Regions from separate parts of the Homo sapiens genome. Here regions 2, 3, 4, 5, 6 and 7 are each linked to region 1. The links are contacts of gene promoters, found by promoter capture Hi-C in blood cells and fetal thymus (Javierre and others, 2016). All regions are on one chromosome and are shown on one strand. The core of a region is centred on a gene start or on the middle of the fragment in contact, and the rest is flanking DNA. Distances in the headings are between cores, read along the strand shown. Region 1 holds the start of SIRT2 (sirtuin 2). Region 2 overlaps RYR1 (ryanodine receptor 1). Region 3 holds the start of MAP4K1 (mitogen-activated protein kinase kinase kinase kinase 1). Region 4 holds the start of FAM98C (family with sequence similarity 98 member C). Region 5 overlaps RYR1 (ryanodine receptor 1). Region 6 overlaps RYR1 (ryanodine receptor 1). Region 7 overlaps RYR1 (ryanodine receptor 1).

The links. Contacts are between HindIII fragments. The CHiCAGO score rates a contact against its expected background, and 5 or more counts as called.
Region 2: a contact is called between a fragment that was not itself captured here and the fragment with the promoter of SIRT2 in region 1, in 1 of 17 cell types (erythroblasts). The highest score is 5.1, in erythroblasts.
Region 3: the fragment with the promoter of MAP4K1 here is called in contact with the fragment with the promoter of SIRT2 in region 1 in 6 of 17 cell types (activated CD4 T cells, non-activated CD4 T cells, fetal thymus and 3 more); the score reaches 7.1 in activated CD4 T cells.
Region 4: a contact is called between the fragment with the promoter of FAM98C here and the fragment with the promoter of SIRT2 in region 1, in 12 of 17 cell types (naive CD4 T cells, activated CD4 T cells, naive CD8 T cells and 9 more). The highest score is 11.0, in naive CD4 T cells.
Region 5: a fragment that was not itself captured here is called in contact with the fragment with the promoter of SIRT2 in region 1 in 1 of 17 cell types (naive CD8 T cells); the score reaches 6.5 in naive CD8 T cells.
Region 6: a contact is called between a fragment that was not itself captured here and the fragment with the promoter of SIRT2 in region 1, in 4 of 17 cell types (non-activated CD4 T cells, total CD8 T cells, naive CD8 T cells and 1 more). The highest score is 7.3, in non-activated CD4 T cells.
Region 7: a fragment that was not itself captured here is called in contact with the fragment with the promoter of SIRT2 in region 1 in 12 of 17 cell types (total CD4 T cells, naive CD4 T cells, naive CD8 T cells and 9 more); the score reaches 9.1 in total CD4 T cells.

What each region holds. Positions count from the first base shown.
Region 1 is chr19:38,898,208-38,901,242 of GRCh38, reverse strand. It overlaps SIRT2 (sirtuin 2), which reads left to right and starts at 1,625. Exons shown (of 16, transcript NM_012237.4): 1 at 1,625-1,737; 2 at 2,818-2,864. The coding sequence starts at 1,722. NFKBIB (NFKB inhibitor beta) reads right to left here and starts at 1,274. Exons shown (of 6, transcript NM_002503.5): 1 at 1,032-1,274. The coding sequence starts at 1,210. The HindIII fragment of the contact is 23,515 bases long and covers 1-3,035 here.
Region 2 is chr19:38,578,780-38,581,638 of GRCh38, reverse strand. RYR1 (ryanodine receptor 1) reads right to left here. Exons shown (of 106, transcript NM_000540.3): 100 at 1,511-1,657; 101 at 1,135-1,269. Among named protein-coding and RNA genes, the nearest start is that of MAP4K1-AS1, 16 kb to the left of the region's middle. RefSeq lists an enhancer at 1,587-2,088. The HindIII fragment of the contact is 8,029 bases long and covers 1-2,859 here.
Region 3 is chr19:38,616,614-38,619,456 of GRCh38, reverse strand. It overlaps MAP4K1 (mitogen-activated protein kinase kinase kinase kinase 1), which reads left to right and starts at 1,504. Exons shown (of 31, transcript NM_001042600.3): 1 at 1,504-1,660; 2 at 1,832-1,889; 3 at 2,013-2,103. The coding sequence starts at 1,562. It overlaps EIF3K (eukaryotic translation initiation factor 3 subunit K), which reads right to left and starts at 269. Exons shown (of 8, transcript NM_013234.4): 1 at 130-269. The coding sequence starts at 188. RefSeq lists an enhancer at 931-980. The HindIII fragment of the contact is 13,708 bases long and covers 502-2,843 here.
Region 4 is chr19:38,401,341-38,404,393 of GRCh38, reverse strand. It overlaps FAM98C (family with sequence similarity 98 member C), which reads right to left and starts at 1,301. Exons shown (of 8, transcript NM_174905.4): 1 at 1,176-1,301; 2 at 908-1,056; 3 at 700-834. The coding sequence starts at 1,240. RefSeq lists silencers at 795-994, 1,185-1,514. The HindIII fragment of the contact is 11,725 bases long and covers 1-2,353 here.
Region 5 is chr19:38,518,801-38,521,878 of GRCh38, reverse strand. It overlaps RYR1 (ryanodine receptor 1), which reads right to left. Exons shown (of 106, transcript NM_000540.3): 67 at 2,425-2,665. Among named protein-coding and RNA genes, the nearest start is that of MAP4K1-AS1, 76 kb to the left of the region's middle. The HindIII fragment of the contact is 7,673 bases long and covers 1-3,078 here.
Region 6 is chr19:38,449,432-38,452,247 of GRCh38, reverse strand. It overlaps RYR1 (ryanodine receptor 1), which reads right to left. Exons shown (of 106, transcript NM_000540.3): 12 at 363-484. Among named protein-coding and RNA genes, the nearest start is that of RYR1, 17 kb to the right of the region's middle. The HindIII fragment of the contact is 175 bases long and covers 1,375-1,549 here.
Region 7 is chr19:38,539,658-38,542,360 of GRCh38, reverse strand. All of the region lies in intron 84 of RYR1 (ryanodine receptor 1), which reads right to left. Among named protein-coding and RNA genes, the nearest start is that of MAP4K1-AS1, 55 kb to the left of the region's middle. The HindIII fragment of the contact is 8,158 bases long and covers 1-2,703 here.

The DNA of each region.
Region 1 (3,035 bases), core at 376-2,875:
ATGAAATTTAATGAAAATTAACGAGACTATAAAGCTGGTTGAGATCAATATTCAGTGCCTCCTGGATCAGGCCCTGCTTGCATCACTGGGCATACAGCAGTAAACACAACAGACAAAAAACCCAGTACAATCCCTCATCTGGGCCTTTGCAACTGCAGTTCCTTCTCCTTGAAATGCTCTTATCTTGTTTATCTATTGCCTCATTTTCCTGCTTTATTTTTCTCCAAAGTACTTAACTACCTCTGACTTTATTTCCTTTTCTTACTTTCTATGTTTCTTTCTTTCTGCGTGTCTTTCTTTGTTTCTTCCTGTCTTTCCATTTCTTTCCTTCCTTGTGGTCTTATCAATCTGTTTATTTAGCTCCACTAAAATGTATGCTCCACAAGGGCTTAAGTTTTTGTTTGTTTTCTTCACTGCCTTTATCACTAGCACCTAAACGGAGCCTGGAACGTGGTAATGTGTAAAGAATATTTGTTTAACAGATGAATCCTTGGTCTCATGGAGCTAACATTCTTTTTTTTAATTTTCCTATTTTTTTACTTTAATTAGGAATTCAACATAGAAGAGCTTACATTCTCTCTCTTTGAATTTAAGATTTGAAGAACACTGCTCAGAAGACAGGATCTTAGAGTCAGGGACCAAGTATTAATTTCGGAAATCAAACTCTAGGGCTCAAATCGGGAACTAAGAATCAAAGATCATATTTGGAGGTTAGAAGTCAGGAGAAGCCACAGTTCTAACAGAAGTCTCAGGACTGGAGTCAGGTTTGGGTATCAGTGGATACAATGTGGATTCCAGGAGCTGAGAATCATAGTTCAAGAAAAGAAGGTAAGAAATGATTGGGTTAGGATCATAGCTAGATAGAAGATTGGTTTTGTTAAAAGTTAGGACTCGGGGGTTAGAGGTCAGGAAGTTCAGCATCGGAAGTCAGATTTAGGAGTATGAGGTTAGGAAGCCTCAGGGATCAGAGATTAATGAGGAATGTGACGCCGGGTCCTAGGGCTCCGTTTGGCAGCCTAAGGTTCACTCACGTGTCCCCATCCTCAGTGACGTAGCCGAAGACGAGGGGAGCCCACGACAGCCCCGGGCCCAACTCCGCGCCCAACCCAGGTCCTCCGGGGGCCGCTGCGTCCGGACCCAGGGAGCCCAGGCCGCTGTCGCACCATTCATCTGCGTCGGCAGCTTTTCCCAAGCACGCGACCCCAGCCATGGCCCCCGCCGCCTCAGGGGCCCCCCGCAGTCGCCCGCCTGTAGCTGGGCTTTGCCGGGAGTTCTGGAGCTTCCGCCCTGCGGGAAATTCCCCACCACGCCCCCTGATTCACCCAATGATAATATGCTGAATCGCTCACACCCCGCCCTCGTACTGCATCCTGACCAATCAGAGTATTCGGGAGGACTACAACTCTCTAGCCGTTCCCACATTTTCCGGGCGCCCTTTACCAACATGGCTGCTGACGCCACGCCTTCTGGGACTCGTAGTCCGGTCCTCGCGCGCTTTCTTACCTAACTGGGGCGCTCTGGGTGTTGTACGAAAGCGCGTCTGCGGCCGCAATGTCTGCTGAGAGTTGTAGTTCTGTGCCCTATCACGGCCACTCCCATTTCTGGTGCCGTCACGGGACAGAGCAGTCGGTGACAGGACAGAGCAGTCGGTGACGGGACACAGTGGTTGGTGACGGGACAGAGCGGTCGGTGACAGCCTCAAGGGCTTCAGCACCGCGCCCATGGCAGAGCCAGACCGTGAGTCGGGGATCCGGGTAGGAGGGTCGGGCCGCGCCGGGGCCTGGCTGAATGCTGCAGGCCCCGGGGCCCAAGGGTGGCCGCGGTGGGGCGGGAAGTAGGGAGCGCTTCGGGGAGTGGGATTCTGAGGGCTGTTGCTTAGCGATCTGTATCGCTAGGCTGGTGGGTTTCTGGGTCGCAGTGTGTTCAGGGTTCGTTTACCACATCCACTTGCCAAGTTGCCAATGATCGCGTGTTTCTCGCACCTTGGTTGCTAAGGTCCCTCGCTGCAAAGAACATAAGTTGCCCCGGTCCCGCTTGCTATGGGTACCTGATTGTTAGAGGCAACCAGAGGATGCTGAGGGACCCCTGCTGACCCCTCCTATGGCTTCCCCTTGTTCCGCGCCTCTCCTAAACCTACCGCCTCCACTGCACCACTGCACCTCCCTCCTAAACCTGCCTCCCAGCCAAAGCGTCTCTTCCCTTCTCTTTTCCTTTCTAAACTTCCCTCTGCCTTGTAAATCTAACCCTCCCCGCACACACACTCACACACTGTCGTGTCCTTCCTAACTCCTCCTGAGTGTTCCTTCATGCCCTGAATCCCCTAGGTAGGAGGAGGAGGATCGCTTGAGCCCAGGAATTTGAGGCTGCAGTGAGCTATGATCGCACTATTGCACTCCAACCTGGGTGACATGAGCGAGACCCTTTCTCTAAAAAGTAAAAAAGAAAGAAAGTAAGTCAGGGCCAGAAACAATGGCTCATGCTTGTAATCCCAGTACTTTGGGAGGCCAAGGTGGTTGGATCGCTTGAGCCCAGGAGTTCAAGACCAGCCTGGGCAAAAGCCCCTACTTTCTCCCTGTCCCCCTAAATCTTCCTCTCCAGCCTCTCTGCCCCTCACTAATCACCTCTCCCGGCATCACTTTGCATGTAGATAAGATCTTTTCTCCGTCCCCTCCCTCCCTCTGCTCCATTTTTACCACCATCCCATCCCAGTGTAACTAGGTTGGTGGGTGTTCTTGCCCCCTCACTGACCATTTGAACCCCTTTATTCCCCCCTTAATCGTTCTCCCCACTGTAACCACCTCTGCTCCCCTCCCCCAGCCTCTCACCCTCTGGAGACCCAGGCAGGGAAGGTGCAGGAGGCTCAGGTGAGATGGGGGAAAGGGTGGAGGGGAGGAGAGAGACGGACTTGTTCCACATCCCACACTGGGGGGAGGTGGCAAAGGGGAAACAGTCACCCCAGGGCCCTCGGCTCATTGCCCCAATCCCTCACACCACCCAGTGCAGCTTTCTGGGGAAAGGCAGATTCTGGGGATTGT
Region 2 (2,859 bases), core at 253-2,752, 320 kb after region 1:
TGACAGAACGAGACTCTGTCTCAGGAACAACAACAACAAAAAACCTCAGCTCAAATAATATTGAAACAATGGCGAAGAGGTGTGGAGCACTCATATGCCTGGCACTGTTCAAAGTATCTGACATGGCCAGGTGCGGCGGCTCACACCTGTAATCCCAGCACTTTGGGAGGCCGAGGTGGGCAGATCACGACGGCACAGGCAGAGATGGAGACCATCCTGGCCAACATGGTGAAACTCCGTCTCTACTAAGAATACAAAAATTGGCCGGGCGCAGTGGCTCATGCCTGTAATCCCAGCACTTTGGGAGGCCCAGGCGGGCGGATCACCAGGTCAGGAGATCGAGACCATCCTGGCTAACATGGTGAAACCCCGGCTCTACTAAAAATACAAAAAATTTGCCAGGCGTGGTGGCGGGCGCCTGTTGTCCCAGCTACTCGGGAGGCAGAGGCAGGAGAATGGCATGAACCCGGGAGGCGGAGCTTGCAGTGAGCTGAGATCACGCCACTGCACTCCAGCCTGGGCCAGACTCTGTCTCAAAAAAAAAAGAAAGAAAGAAAATTAAGAATACAAAAAGTATCTGGGTGTGGTGGCATGCGCCTGTAGTCCCAGCTACTTGGGAGGCTGAGGCAGGAGAATCACTTGAACCCAGGAAGCGGAGGTTGCAGTGAGCTGAGATTGCGCCACTGCACTCTAGCCTGGCAACACAGTGAGACTCCATCTCAAAAAAAAAAAAAAAAAATGTGCCTGGCATGCATCAGCTTGCCAAACTGTAGGTACTATTTTCATTTTTTAGAGATAGGGTCTCTGTCTGTCTGCCAGGATGGAGTGTAGTGGCCCATTCGTAGCTCACTAAAGCCTCAAACTGCTGGGACCAAGTGATCCTCTTGCCTTAGCCTCCAGGCACACAACACAACACCCAGCTAACGTTTAAATTTTTTTTTATAGAGACAGGATTTTTGCTTTGTTGCCCAGGCTGGTTTCCAACTCCTGGACTCAAGTAATCGTCCCGCCTCGGCCTCCCGACGCACTGGGATTGCAGGCTGGAGGCACCACGCCCGGCCTGGAGGTACCATTATTAACTCCTTCAACAGATGCGAGAAGGAAGGGTCCCAGAGTGCTAGGGGAGGGGCTCACCGTCATCATGTCATCACACTTCATGTCAGGTTCATCCTCATCCTCGCTCTTGTTGTAGAACTTGCGGAAGAAGTTGAAGGCCACCACGGTGTACAGGTAGACGACCACCGCCAGAAGGCCCACGGTCATCACCAGCTGGGGGCAGGATGGGGCCAGGTCAGCTCCGCCCTGGGCTTGCCCTCCCCCCACCCTGCCCATGCTGGGTCCTGGCCCCGGTTCAGTCCCTGTGGCTCTACCTTGCTGCCCCACACACCCCCGGCTCAGCGCACCTGGCCTTGCCCCTCCTCAGCCCAGCTGCCCGGCCCTTATCCCTTCACCACCCACTGCCACGCTGGTCCCTGCTGGCCCACGCCCCACAGCCAGGTCCTCCCCACACCTGTTTCCCATTGTGGGTGACAGAGGACAGGATGGTGCGCAGCGTCTTGACCCCCATGGCGATGTCCAGGAGATGGGCAGCAAAGAAGAAGTTGTTGTAGTGTCCCAAGAGGGACATCACCATATACCAGCCCAGGTACAGGAAGGACTGTGGGCACACAGGGCCAGGGGTCAGGGGGAAGGCAGGGACACACGAGGAGCACTCTGGAGGGTAGGGGCCACTCGAGAGTCAGCTGTGCCCTGGGGGTCGGGTGCCAGCTCTGTTTGGGGAGTACATGGAGGATCAGGGCATTCCGGGTGAGAAGGCATCCTGCGGGGAGATGAGAGCCCCCTCCAGAAGGAAATAATCTGGCAATCTAAGGGCACACTGAGGGAGCCAAAGGATGTTCTGGGCCGGGTGTGGTGGCTCATGCCTGTATCCCCAGTGCTTTGGGGGGCTGAGGCAGGAGCATCACTTGAGGTCAGGAGTTGAAGACCAGTCTGGGCAACATAGCGAGACTCCATCATCTCTTCCTCTGTCTTTTTTTTTTTTTTTTTTTGAGATGGAGTTTCACACTTGTCACCCAGGCTGGAATGCTATGGCGCAATCTCAGCTCACTGCAACCTCCGCCTCTCAGGTTCAAGTGAAGGAGGCTAAGCCTGCCAAGTAGCTGAGACCACAGGTGTGGGTAACCACACCCAGCTAATTTTTTTTTTTTTTTTTTTGAGATGGAGTCTTAGTCTGTTGCCCAGGCTGGAGTGCAGTGTTGCAATCTCAGCTCACTGCAACCTCCGCCTCCCGGGTTCAAGCGATTCTCCTGCCTTAGCCTCCAAAGTAGCTGGGACCACAGGCGTGGGTCACCACACCCAGCTAATTTTTGTATTTTTAGTAGAGATGGGTTTCACCATGATGGCCAGGCTGGTCTCTAACTCCTGGCCTCAAGTGATCCACCCACCTCGGCCTCCCAACCCAAAGTGCTGGGATTACAGGCCTGAGCCACCGCACCTGGCCACTCTCTGTTTTTTGTTAGAGACAGGGTCTCGCTCTGTTATCCACGCTGGAGTGCAGTGGTGCACATGCAGCTCACTGAAACCTCTGCCTCCTGGGCTCAAGCCATCCTCCCACCGCAGCTTGTTGAGTGGCTGGGACTACAGGTGTGCACCACCACGCCTGGCTAATTTTTGTATTGTTTGTAGAGACAGGGTTTCACCGTCTCTACAAAAGTTGCCCAAGCTGGTCTTAAACGTTTGAGCTCAAGCAAACCTCTGCCTCCGCCTCCCAAAGTGCTGGGATTATAGGCCTGAGCCACTGTGCCTGTCTGCCTGGCTAATTTTTTGTGTTTTTGTTGTTGTTGTTGTTGAGATGGATTC
Region 3 (2,843 bases), core at 255-2,754, 280 kb after region 1:
CCTCCTCCAGGAGGATAGAGAAACCCCACCCCGCGGCAAGCCCAGGACCCTGAACACCCCTTGCTGTCTCCGGAAAACCCTCTCCTCCGCCCCGCTTGGCCAGAGCGCTTCCTCCAACCGGGCTCAGACCTGTCGATACCCTTGAGCAACTTGCCCACGTTGGCTCTCATCTGCTCAAACATCGCCATGACTTCTGTCGCCTTCCACAACCAGGGCTGGAGGCTAACACTGACCCGGCACGGCGTCCTCAAGGACGGGAACAGGAAGAGGTGGTGGAAACGGAAACGACGTCGTTGTTGTCGCTCCAGCTCCTTGGGTGCGGTAAAGGGAAAGGCTCTAGCAGCAGCCGCCACGCTTTCCGGCTGCCACGTGACTTCTTCCTCGCAGGCGCAATTGGCGCGTGCGCATTCGCGCCACTCAAGCTGGACAGACAGCGTGAGAAAAATCTTACTGGATCCCAGTGCGCAGGCGCCTCTCGTGGCGAGGGGGCGGGGCTAAGCTTTTCCCGGGCCTCACAGACCCAGTTCCAGTGCCGGTAGCGCGGGAGCGTGCGCGCGCGAACTCACCGGGAAGCACCCGGAGCTCTGGCGGCGTGCGCGCGCGTTGTATTGCGCGCGGCCATGAGGCCACGGAGCTCTGCGGGAATGCACGCAGCAGCCTTACGTTTAGGCCATGGCCAAGTTCCGAGGGAGGTGTTCTGAGGTCCCTCTTGCCACAGGCCTGGGCGCCTGGTGCAGGATCCTGAGCTCTCCAGTTTCAAGTCTCAGCCCTTGGTCCCCAGCTCCAGGAGGAGGGTCCCACAAAGCTACTGTGCTCTGCCGGGCAGGGGCTGGGGTGAGGGCTCCTGGACTTCGCCGGATCGCGCCCCGTCTCCATTAGGTTCCGGTCTTGGAGCTGAGGGCGAGCGTCCCATTTGTACTGCCATGAATTATATATTATGTATAGGTTTTGTACACTGCAGGCCTACAAAATGCAGTTATGTGCCATGCATGTGGAGGTATATGTCCTGGGTACATCCACGTGTGTACTGTGCACACAGGTATCCAGGCAGATGCACGTCTACACGCCTGCGCAGTGCAGAGGAGGTAACCCAAGTGCATGTATGTGACAGGTGAACAGGCATGTACACTGCATAGCCATCCCTTTGCAGACCTGCCGCCTTCGGGTTGTGGCCAAACCTTCAAGCACCCAGCAGAGGTTTAGACACTACCTAGGAGACGGGGGCGGGGGTTCTAAGGCACCCCCCTCCAACCCAGTTACGATTAAGATCATTTGCATCACATTTACATCCAGCCCTGGGCCTTGGAGGTTGAGGGTGGTCCCTTGGGTCCCAAGACAAGCTGCCCCTCAGAGGCTCTCAGAGCCCAGGGGACGGGGGGGTGGAGCCCGTTGCACAGTCGTGCAGTGCAGCTGGGGCAGGAAGCGAGAGTGAGGAGGGGGGAGGCCACAGCCCGCGGAGGCAAGGCGGGTGCAGGGCTTCTGGGGACGGAGGGAGGTGCCAGAAGTTGAGCCCTGAGGCCCTGCTGGCCCCTGGGCGCAGGCCCAGCTCAGGCCCCCAGGGATGGACGTCGTGGACCCTGACATTTTCAATAGAGACCCCCGGGACCACTATGACCTGCTACAGCGGCTGGGTGGCGGCACGTATGGGGAAGTCTTTAAGGTGAGGAAGCCCCTCTGTCCCCAACACCCTACAACCAGTGACCTTTAAGGCAAGCCCTCGGCAGGGAGGAGGCTGCAAGAGGGGGTCCCAGTTCTTGACCTTGACTCAGGGATGCTGTGGAGGGACTCTGGCAAATGGAGCCTGCCTGACTGCCAACTTCCCCTTTGCAAGGCTCGAGACAAGGTGTCAGGGGACCTGGTGGCACTGAAGATGGTGAAGATGGAGCCTGGTGAGGAGGGAACATGGAGCTCCTTCCCCACATCCCCACCTTCGCCTCCTGGGACACTGGGATCACCTCCCCTGTAGCTCTCTCCCCATGCGAGCTGCCTTTTCTCTCCCGCCCTCCTCACAGATGATGATGTCTCCACCCTTCAGAAGGAAATCCTCATATTGAAAACTTGCCGGCACGCCAACATCGTGGCCTACCATGGGAGTTATCTCTGGTGATGAACCTCAGACCCACCCTGGCACCCAGCCCAGCCCCTAACCCGGAGTCCCCATTTCTTGATGGGGGTACCCTCAGTTCTTTTTTTTTCTTTTCTTTTTCTTTTTTGAGATGGAGTCTTGTTCTGTTGCCAGGCTGGAGTGCAGTGGCATGATCTCAGCTCACTGCAACCTCTGCCTCCTGGGTTCAAGCAATTCTCTGCCTCAGACTCCCGAGTAGCTGGGATTACAGGCGCTCACCACCCTGCCCGGCAAATTTTTGTATTTTTAGTAGAGATGGGGTTTCACCATCTTGGCCAGGCTGGTCTTGAACTCCTGACCTTGTGATCCACTCGCCTCGGCCTCCGAAAGTGCTGGGATTACAGGTGTGATCCACCGCGCCTGGTCTTGGCACCCTCAGTTCTAACCTTGAACTTCCATTTCTCACCATAACCCGACCTCCCATCCTGGACCCCCATTTTTGACTGGGCTAACCCTACCATGATCCTCACTCCTAAGTCCCACTTTTCTGACCAGAGCAGCCTCTAATCTAATCTCCAATCTAAAATTCCCATTTCTGACCAAGAGTACCCCAAATTGATCTCTTCATAGTAACTGAATTTGAAATCAACTCCCTTGAAACGAAGCTCTCACCATTCTGCTCTTTGGCTCACCCAGTTTCACTCTCTGCTCCTTTAATATAAACTCCTAAATTCCCTGATCCCCAAATTAATATTCCAGATGCCCCAATAATGACCTC
Region 4 (3,053 bases), core at 52-2,551, 500 kb after region 1:
CCCCACCTCCACTTAAAAACAAAACAAAACAAAATCCTCCACCTTCTAGTCCCCCCCACCTAAAGCCTTCCAGAGTAAGCCCCACCTTGAGACCCTGTCCCCTCCTACGAATTCCACTCCTGCCCACTTTGAAACCTCAAGCCTTCCTCCTAATCCAACCCACTTGAGCTCCTAGGCCCTCCAATTAAAATTCTAACCCCGGGCCGGGCGTGGTGGGCTCACGCCTGTAATCCCAACACTTTGGGAGGCCGAGGTGGACAGATCACCTGGGGTCAGGAGTTCGAGACCTGCCTGGCTAACATGGTGAAACCCCGTTTCTACTAAAAATAGCCGAGTGTGGTGTCGCGCGCCTGTAATCCCAGCTACTCGGGAGGCTGAGGCAAGAGAATCACTTGAACCTGGGAGGTGGAGGTTGCAGTGAGCCGAGATCACGCCACTGCACTCCAGCTTGGGTAACAAGAGTGAAACTCCATCTCAAAAATAATAATAATAAAATAAATAAAAAATAAAACGAAATTCTACCCCCGCCCATTTTAGAGCGCTCTGCTTGCCCCAACATGCTCACCCCACCCACCTCGTACCCTCTGGGCCGCCCCAAAGTTCTGACCACACCCCTTGGGAACCTCGATTTCCCCTAAAAAGTCAGAGCCCGCCGCTCCGGAGGCCATGGCCTTGCCACTTCTGCATCCCGGGACTCACGCAGCAGGCGCAGTCCGGCACCGGGTTCCCGAAGCGCAGCCGCGCCATCCCCGCCGCAGAGCGCGCGATCCGGGCAGTGCAGCTCCCGCAGCAGGCTGCCGAGCTGCCGCAGAAAGTCCTCCTCCGCGCCAGGGCCTGCGAGGACAGGGGTGTCAGGGCTCGGTGGCCCCGTGGCGGCCCCCCTGCCACCCTCCCGCTCCGTGTTTACCGTCGCCGGCGCTCAGCACCTCCGCGCCCGCCTCTCGCTGCTGCTCGAGGGCGCCCAGCGTCGCCAGCTCCGCCGCCAGCCGCACGCACAGCCCCCTGAAGTCTGGGCATGAGGCGCCCCGCGACGCCGCCCCCGGGACACCTCCATACCTGTGGGGACCGAGGCAGCGGGAGGGGGCGGGGATGTCACTGGGAATCCCTTTTCGTCCGCGTCCAGGGGGCAGACCTGGCCTTCCTGCACCCACCAGCCTCACCGCACACCCTTTTACCCCAGAGCCAGCAGGTCCTGGGCCACCGCGGCCCCCTCCCACGCTTCCGCCTTCACCGCCTCCATGAAAGTGTGGTCTCGGCGCGCCCCCTGGCGGCCGGTGGCAGGCTCCGCCCCAAAAGCGCCGCGCGCACGAGCTCCCCGCAGCGTCCGGCGGCACTGACCAATCGGCATCTTCCCGCGCAGGGGCTTGGGTGCTCCCATTGGCGCAGGAGGACGCCGAACCCGCCCCGGGGCCCGCCCGCCCCGCCCCTCGGCTAACCTGTCGGGGTTGTAGGAACGCCCCCTGGAGCTGTAAATTGCAGTGCGTTCGGGATCTCCGCTGTCAAGACAAGCTGGCGGCGGGTGTCACTGTTGCGGCGACATAAAAACAACTTCGGTGCCATTTTCCTTTTCCTCCCTCAGTTGTCTTCTGCTGGTGTTTTGTTGGTTTGTTTTTGAGGCAGATTTCGCTCTATCGTTCAGGCTGGACTGCAGTGGCGCCATCGCGGCTCACTGCAGTCTCGACCTTCTGGGCTCAAGAGATCCTCCCGCCTCAGCCTCCCAGCTAAATTTTTAAAAATCAGTCAGCCTTGGTGGCTTACACCTAGTAGCTGGGACCACAGGCGCAGACCACCGCGCCTGGCTGATTTGTTTTTAATTTTTTTGTAGAGACAAGGTTTCCTCATGTTGCCCAGCCTGGTTTCCAACTGCTGGGTTCAAGCGATCCGCCTGCCTCGGCCTCCCAAAGTGCTGGAATTACAGGCGTGAGCCACTGCAACCGGCCAATTTTTTTTTTTTTTTAAAGTTTTGTAGAGGCCGGGCACGGTGGCTCACGCATGTAATCCCAGCACTTTGGGAGGCTGAGGTGGGTGGATCACTTGAGGTCAGGAGTTCGAGACCAGCCTGGGCACATGGTGAAACCTCATCTCTAATAAAAATACAAAAATTAGCCGGGCGTGGTGGCACACGCCTGTAGTCACCACTATTTGGGAGGCTGAGGCAGGAGAATTGCTTGAGCCCGGGAGACACAGACTGCAGTGAGCCAAGATCGCGCCACTGCACTCCAGCCTGGGGACAGAGCAAGACTCCGTGTCAAAAAAGAAATAAAGTTTTGTAGAGAGGGGTCTAGCTATGTCGCCCAGGTTTGCCTCTAACTCCAGTGTTCAAGCAATCCTTCCCTCTCAGCCTTCCAAAGCTTGGGATTACAGGCTTGAGCCAGTGTTCCTGGCCCTGTCCTCTGCTCTTAAAGCAGCCCAGACGGAGTGGTGTTCACCCAACTCTGCCTAAAATCCAAAACTTCCTCCCTCCTTTCCACCTCAGGGTTTGAATTACATAAGGGACCCAGGAATCCCAGCACACCCCTCACACACCAGGCCCTCCTCATCGATCACGATGTGCCTGTTAGGCCTTCACTCCTCTCCCTCTTAGGCCTTGGAGTGAGCAGGTGCAATGCACCATAGTGGTTAAGAGATTACACCCTAGGAATCAGGCAAAGGGTTAGGGCTTGATTCTGTTACTCGCCAGCTCCATGTTCCTGCCAAATTGCTTCCCATCTGTATAATGGGGATAATAGTACCTACCTCTTAGAGTTGTTGCTGAGGATTAATTAGAGTTTCATATGTAAAAAGTGCTTAGCAGATATATAGGGAGTACTTAATAAGGAATAACTAATATATATACAGCATTTAATGTGTACTATTGGGCGAAGTATCTTATCTCTTTTACAGAAGAGAAAACTAAGGTTGAGAGAAGATAAGTCACAGAGTGAATTCATGGTGATGCCAAGGCTTGAAGATGAAATTCCAGACTCTATACTCTTAAACCACGGAACCTATTTCCACTGTTACTACTGCTGTTGTTTTGTTGCTGTTGCTAAGTAAACATTGTGTCAGATCTA
Region 5 (3,078 bases), core at 138-2,637, 380 kb after region 1:
AAAAATTAGCCGGGTGTGGTGGCAGGCACCTGTGGTCCCAGCTACTCAGGAGGCTGAGGCAGGAGAATGGCGTGAACCCGGGAGGTGGAGCTTGCAGTGAGCAGAGATCGCACCACTGCACCCCAGCCTGGGCGAGACTCCATCTCAAAAAAAAAAAAAAAAATTTTCTTTTTTTCTTTTTTGAGACAGGGTCTCGCTCTGTCGCCCAGGCTGGAGTGCAGTGGTGTGATCTCAGCTCACTGCAACTTCTGCCTCCCAGGTTCCAAGTGATTCTCCTGCCTCAGCCTCCCACTCAGGAGTACTTAGCTGGGACTACAGGTATGCGCCACCACGCCCGGCTAATTTTTGTATTTTCAGTAGAGACAGGGTTTTTGCATGTTGCCCAGGCTGGTCTCAAACTTCTGAGTTTGAGACTGAGTTTGAGTGATCCACTCTCTTTGGCCACCCAAAGTGCTGGGATTACAGTCACGAGCCACTGCACCCAGCATAAAATTTCTTTTTTTTTTGAGACAGGGTCAGAATCTAAGTAGGTTCACATATTTTATTTTATTCATTTACTTGTATTAAAAAAAAACAAACCTTATTGAGACAGGGTCTATCTCTGTTGCCCAGGTTGGAGTGCAGCGGTGTGATCATAGCTCACTGCAGCTTTGACCTCCTGGGCTCAAACGATCCTCCCACCTCAGCCTCCCAGTCCCAGCCTGAGGCAAGGACTACAGGTGTGTGTCACCATGCCTGACTAATTTTTGTATTTCTTTTCTTTTTTTGTAGAGACAGGGTCTAGCCATGTTGCCTAGGCTGGTCTCAAATTCCTGAGCTCAAGTGATCCTCCCGCCTCAGTCTCTCAAAGTGCTGGGATTACAGTTGTAAGCCACTGCACCCGGCCCCAAACTTATTCTTATCTGCTCGTGAACATTAAACAGATGGTAAAATATGTAGTTTATTTCTTGGTTTTCTGGCTTCTTTCATTCCACCTAACATTTGTGAAAGCCAATCACATTGTGCATAGAAACAACTTGTTCACTCCCACTGCCGTGGAGTCTTCTGTTGTATGAATAAACCACAATTTGTTCATATTTACTGATTGAAAAATTGAACTATATCCAACAGCAGAGAATGTCACACGACCACCAAGACAAAAGAGGTGAATCTATACATCTTTTTTTTTTTTTTTTTTTTTTTTTTGAGGTGGAGCCTCGCTCTGTTCCTAGGCTGGAGTGCAGTGACACGATCTCAGCTCAGTGCAACCTCTGCCTCCCAGGCTCAGGCGATTCTCCTGCTTCAGCCTCTGGAGTAGCTGGGATTTCAAGCCTGCGTCACTACGCCTGGCTAATTTTTGTATTCATAATAGAGACAGGGTTTCGCCACGTTGGCCAGGCTGGTCTCAAACACCTGACCTCAGGTGATCTGCCCACCTCGGCCTCCCAAAGTGCTGGGATTACAGGCATGAGCCACCACACCCGGCCTATATGTCTTTCATGGTGTATTGTTGTGTTAAAAAAAAAAAAAAAGCAGCTAAGTGTGGTGGCTCACTTCTGTAATCCCAACACTTTGGGAGGCTGAGGTGGGAGGATCACTTGACCCCGGGAATTCAAGACCAACCTGGGCAACATAGTGAGACCCCATAAAAATACAAGAATTAGCCGAGCATGTTGGTGTGAGTCTATAATCCCAGCTACTCAGGGGCAGAAGCAGAGGATCGCTTGAACCCAGGAACCGAGGCTGCAGCAAGCCATGATCATGCCACAGCACTCCAGCCTGGGCAACAGAGAGAGACCCTGTCTCAATAAAAAAAAAAAAAAAAAAAGCAAACTATTCCTTACGGTGTTGTGCATAGTGACAAAGAAATCGACACAATCTAAATGTCCAGCATTAGGAGAATGATTTAAAAAAAATCACACTGGCCAGCTGCATTGGCTCACAGCTGTAATCCCAGCACTTTGGGAGGCCGAGGCAGGCAAATCATGAGGTCAAGAGTTCAAGACCAGCCTGGCCAACATGGTGAAAATCTGTCTCTACTAAAAATACGAAACTTAGCTGGGCGTGGTGGCATGCACCTGTAATCCTAGCTACTGGGAAGGCTGAGGCAGGAGAATCACTTGAACCCGGGAGGTGGAGGTTACAGTGAGCCGAGATCGCGCCACTGCATTCCAGCCTGGGCAATAAAGCGAGGCTCTGTCTCCAAAAACAAAAACAAACAAAAAAAAACCCAAAAACCAAAAACAAAAAGAAACAAACAAGTGGGCTGGCTGTCGTTGGACCAATGTGCTCAAAGCCAGAAGAAACCAGGAGGAAGAGTCAGAAGGTTGGTGGGGCCAGAGCATTGGAAGAAGTTTCTAGCCAGTCAGGAGGCGGAGATCAGATGGGGCTGGAGGACGTGGGAGGTCGGGGCGGAGGGCATGGGGACAGCGGGGCCCCGCTGACCTGTTGTTGTCCACGTAGCGGATGAGCAGCGGATACAGGGCGTAGAGGTCCCGGCAGAGCACAGAGAACTCGTCCCGCACCAGCAGCTCGCCCTCCTGGGCCTCCGCCTTGGCCTCCAGGCGCAGCTGCTCCTCCTCGGACACCACCTTCCCTGCCCTCTTGCGCAGCCGCCCGATAGTTGGGATGAAGTGGGACTGCAGGAGCTCCGGCCGTGCACGGCTCACAATGGGCTGTGCGAACACTGCAGGGGTGCGATGGGCTCTGATGCCACCTCCGGCCTCTGACACAGGCCCCAAACTCCGTTCCCAGCCCGACTCCCAAACAGCATCTCCAACCTAGCAGCTGCCATTTGACCCCAGCCTGACCCTAACCTTGGATATAGTCCCTGAACACTGATCCCAGCCATAGCCCCTAACCTGAACCTAAGACCCAGTCCCTATCCTGTGACCCCAGCCTGGCACAAATCCCTGACCTCTGACCCCCAACAACAGACGCCTCACCTGTTACCTAACTTTTTTTTTTTTTTTGAGACAGAGTTTCACTCTTGTCACCCAGACTGGAGTGCAATGGCGCAATCTTGGCTCACTGCAACCTCTGCCTCCCGAGTTCAAGCGATTTTCCTGCCTCAGCCCCGAGTAGCTGGGATTACAGGCG
Region 6 (2,816 bases), core at 213-2,712, 450 kb after region 1:
TCAGGCTGGTCTCGAACTCCTGGGCTCAAGCGATCTGCCCGCCTCAGCCTCTCAAAGTGCTAGGATTACAGGCATGAGCCACTGTGCCCAGCCTAATTTTTTTTTTTTTTTTTTTTTTTTTGGTAGAGGCGGGGTCTCCCTATGCTGCCCAGGCTGGTCTCAAGCTCCTGGGCCCAAGCGATCCTCATGCCTTGCCCTCCCAAAGTCTTGGGATTACAGGTGTGAGCCACTGCGCTTGGCCCATGTATATGTTAGACAAGGGTGTGGGCAACAGAGGTAGAGATGAAAGAGGCCAAGTGTATGGATGCCCGGAGCATGGGACAGCACAGGAGTCACCCCAGCAGGGAGGGCAGGTTGCTCACTTGATGAACTGGTTGTATAGGCCATTGGTGCTGTGGATCATGCGGGCGGCCTGGGACTCCTCCTGCTGGCAGCGGGTCAGCGACAGTGCGTCGTCCATGTGGCCCTCCTGGTGCAGCATGGCCTAGGAGTGGGGAGACAGAGGTCTGGAGTGGGCCCAGCCACCCAGGGCCATGCCCCCAAGACGTCTGTCTAGACTTGAGTTCTGCACTTGCCCCCTCCTCCCTGCTCTGCAGAATCTCACTGCAAATTCCTCCTCATTTTTCTGTCCCCCGTCATCTGTCTCCTCTGTGTCTTTGATTCTCTCTCTCCTCTCTGTCTCTCTCTGTCCCTGTTTTTGGTTTTGTCTGTCTTTGTCTCTCTATCTCTCTCACCTCTGTCCCTGCCTCTCCCTCTCTATCTCTCTATCCCTATCTCCTTCCTGTCTCTGTCTCCAGGCCAGACCCTTTCCACCTGTACCTACTGCTGACTTAACATTCCCCCCGACCAGAAAGCTCTAACCCCCAAATTGAACCTGTCCCAGATAGAATGCCAGACCACCTTTCCACGAGGTGAGACCATCATGGCTGCCAGCTTCACCCCAAGCCGACCTCCCCAGAACTCATCCAGTCTGCGGCTGTAAACACCATCCACCTGCTGATGATGCTCACGTGTCCCCACTTTGGACATGGCCCAGGCCCCGTCTCTACGCCCTTGGCTCATGTATTCAACTACAGGCCTGTTTTTGCAAACGAGTGCCTCCCCAAGGATTCCTACTTGTCCATTCAGCAAGGCTGTAGTAAGTGGCTCTGTTCTAGGCACTGGCAGTAAAGCCTAAGATCCCTGTCCTTCTGAGCCAACACTGACTGTCCCCTAACTTGGTTGATGGCACTGATACAAGAGGTAGAAAAAAATTATTTAGGCAGAGAGTAAGGGCAACAGAGTCCTCGGCAGAGTTTCCTTTCTAACGGAAAGCAGCCCCCAAAATAATTTCTTTTCTAACAAAGAGCAGCCTGGAAAATCGAGCTACAAGCTTGCATGGGGGAATGTGCCGATAGAAAAGGTATACCTGGGGCTACGCATGTCCAACATGGAGGCTCCATCTTCCCTTTATTTAGTTATTTATTTATTTATTGTTTCCACGTTGTACAGAAAAGGAATGGGCAACATGGCCAGCTCAGGCAGAGGACCCGCTTGTACAATAAAAGCTTAGGGTGGAGGCAGCCAGAAATTTGTGCCCTATGCAAATGGCACAACTGGTCCAACCAGTCTTTTGCACCCTAGGTAAATCAGATACCACCTCCCCACCAGCTCATCTGTAAAGCCCCCTGCATTTCACCATGGAACCCCCTGCATTTCAACCCATTTTTCTGGGACCCTTCTCTGCAGTAGAGAGCTCCTTCTTTCGCCTATTAAATGTCCCCTCTTAACCTCACTCTTTGTGTGTCTGCGTCCTTGTTCTCTGTGGCTGTGAGACCACAAACCTTGGGTGATACTCCAGACAATGAGGCTGTTTCAGCACTTCCATCCTTCCAGTTGCTTGGGGCAAAAAATCATGGCATCATCCTCAACCCCTCCCCTTCTCTCACCCCACAGCCAATCTGTCAGCAAATCCTGTTGGCTCTACCCTCAGGACCCCACCAGAATCTACTACTCTTCCCAACTCCACAGTCCCCTCCTGGTCCTGTCCACTGTCATCTCCCATTTGTAACATCATGGCAGTCTCTTCTCTGGTCTCCCTGCTCTGGCTCTGTCCCCTGACCGTAGTCTGTTCCCAGAGACAGCCTAAGAATTCTGTGATCCTGCGTCAGGTCACTTCCCTGCCCTGCTCAAAATCTCCTGTGAGCCCATCTCACTCAGGATAAAAACTAGAACCTGGCCAGGAGCAGTGGCTCACACTTCACTTTAATCTCAGCACTTTGGGAGGCTGAGGCAGGAGGATCACTTGAGCCCCAGGAGTTTGAGACCAGCCTGTGTAATATAATGAGACCTCGTCTCTACAAAAAACAAACAAACAAACAAAACTAGACCTCTCCCATGGCCCACAAGGCCTCACACGAGCTGTTCCCATCCCCTCTCTTTCCTCACCAACCACTACTCCAGCCTGCTCACCCTGTTCCACACTGTGGCTTCTTTCTGCTACTGCAACAAGCCAAGCTCATGTTAACCTCAGGACCTTTGCACATGCTGTTCCTGCTGCCAAAAATAGTTTTCCCACTCCTTAATTGTAAAACTATGTACTTCACTAAAGGCAGTTTGTTCACAATTTCTGAGCACTGGGAGGGCAGGGAACAGGTCGCTACAGCTCATCTATTTTCTGCACACACAACCAGAACAACGCGGGTACTCAGTAATTGTTTGTTGAAAGTTATTCTCAGTTGGTCATTATCCATCTTTTTCTCACTCTCTCTGTTTTTGTTTTTGTTTTGTTTTGTTTTTGTTTTTCTGAGACGGAGTTTCACTCTTGTCAGCCAGGC
Region 7 (2,703 bases), core at 30-2,529, 360 kb after region 1:
TTTTATCAAATTCCTCCTATGTGCTGGGGATATTCATGCATTTATCCAACAAATATTTATTGAGCACCTACTAAAGGCCAGGGAACATATGGATTGGTCACTTGTTCATTTATTCAACATATTTTATTGAGTGTATACTACATCCTCACGAGATTAAGATTGTCACATCCTCTTTGCTACAACAAATTTGTTGCGTTCTTACTATGTGTCATGCAGTATTCTAGGCTCTGGGGATACAGTAGTAAAAAAAAAAAAAACAGTCCCCGGCCTTGGGGGGGATTTTTTTTTTTTTTTGACAAGGTCTCCCTCTGTTGCCTAGGTTGGAGTACTGTGGCATGATCATAGCTCACTGCAGCCTTGACCTCCTGGGTTCAAGTGGTCCTCCCACCTCAGCCTCCCAGGTAGCTGGAACTATAGGTGTGAGCCACCACATCCGGCCAATTTTTAATTTTTTTGTTGAGACCAGCCCAGGCTGGTCTCGAACTCCTGGCCTCAAGCAACCCTCCTACCTTGACCTCCCATAGTGCTGGGATTACAGACATGAGCCGTATGTCCAGCCCCTGCCCTTGTGAAGTTTATATTCTTGTGCAGTAATTTTTTAATCTTTTCTGACTGCAATCTATGGTAGGAAATCCTTTTTTTTTTGAGATACAGTCTTGCTCTGTCACCCAGGCTGGAGTGCAGTGGCATGATCTCAGTTCACTGCAAACTCTGCCTCCCAGGTTCAAGCAATTCTCCTGCCTCAGCCTCCTGAGTAGCTGGGATTACAGGCATGCGCCACCACGCCCGGCTAATTTTTTTGCATTTTTAGTAGAGACAGGGTTTCACCATATTGGACAGGCTGGTCTCCAACTCCTGACCTTGTGATCCACCTGCCTCGGCCTCCCAAAGTGCTGGGATTACAGGTGTAAGCCACCACACCCAGCCGAGGAAATCCTTTTTACATTGAGACCTGATACATGTGTTCAATCTGAAATTATATTCACCTATTCCCGAAAGAGAAGTTTCACATTGCCTTACTCTGTGCCATGCATTCTGTTCTTTTCTGTCCTGTACTGCTCTAGTTAACTACAAAAGAAGAAGTGTGTGCTTCTCATCCTCTCAACCTTGGCTGCACATCAGGACAACTAGGAGGCTTTTAAAAACCCCAGTGCTCAGGCCCAACCCCAGATCAATTGAATTAGAACCTGTAAAGGCAAAACCTGGGCTTAAGTCTCTTTTAAAGCTCCCCAGGCATGCCAGTGTACAATTACAATGAGAACCTCTGCGTGAAACTGATTCATGAACGTCTGTCTGATGGGTTGGTTCCCACTATTTAAAAAACATTGTTCTGTGAAAGCAAACTGTTAAAGCTGAGTGATGGGTAGTTGGGGGTTTATTATACTGTAATATATGATTGGAGGTTTATTACACTGTAGTATATGATTGGAGGTTTATTACACTGTAGTATATGATTGGAGGTTTATTACACTGTAGTATATGATTGGAGGTTTATTACACTGTAGTATATGATTGGAGGTTTATTACACTGTAGTATATGATTGGAGGTTTATTACACTTTAGTATATGATTGGAGGTTTATTACACTGTAGTATATGATTGGAGGTTTATTACACTGTAGTATATGATTGGAGGTTTATTACACTGTAGTATATGATTGGAGGTTTATTACACTGTAGTATATGATTGGAGGTTTATTACACTGTAGTATATGATTGGAGGTTTATTACACTGTAGTATATGATTGGAGGTTTATTACACTGTAGTATATGATTGGAGATTTATTACACTGTAGTATATGATTGGAGGTTTATTACACTGTAGTATATGATTGGAGGTTTATTACACTGTAGTATATGATTGGAGGTTTATTATACTGTAGTATATGATTGGAGGTTTATTATACTGTAGTATATGATTGGAGGTTTATTATACTGTAGTATATGATTGGAGGTTTATTATACTGTAGTATATGATTGGAGGTTTATTATACTGTAGTATATGATTGGAGGTTTATTATACTGTAGTATATGATTTTTTTTTTTTTTGGTAGAGACAGGGTCTCCTTATGTTGCCCAGACTTGTCTTGAACTGCTGGGCTCAAGTGATCCTCCTGCCTCAGCCTCCTAAAGTGCTGGGATTACAGGCATGAGCCACAGTGCCCAGCCAAGTCCTTTTAAATGTTTATAGCAACATCATGTTGCACAGGAAGGTTTTAACAGCCCCTGAAAGTATTTTTGCCCCCCGTTTTTCTTTCCCCTTAACTTTTTTACAGTCAGTTCACAATTGCTCTATCAGGTTGGCTCAACAGAAGGCCCATTTTGCCTAGTTTCATGACATAGACAAAGCATACTCAAATATTCAAAATTTTATAAGCAAAGGTACAGGTTTTCCCATCAACCCTGCTTTCTAACTCCTTTATTTGTGTTAATTTAAATTGTTAAATTAAATTGTGTTAATTTAAATTGGGCTATATGCAAAAATAAAAGATACACAGCTCCTGTAAAAAAAATTCTGGCAACTGACAACACCTGTTATAGACATGTGCAAATAAGTGAGAGACAAACCTTTTGTCTGCTTTGAATAGCACTGACTCCTCAAGACATGCAAGGGGTCTGAGATTTGAAAGATATTTCAAATATCTATTTGATTAGGTCATGAATTTAGGCGAGGACTGGGTTGCAAATATGTTGGGAGACAGCA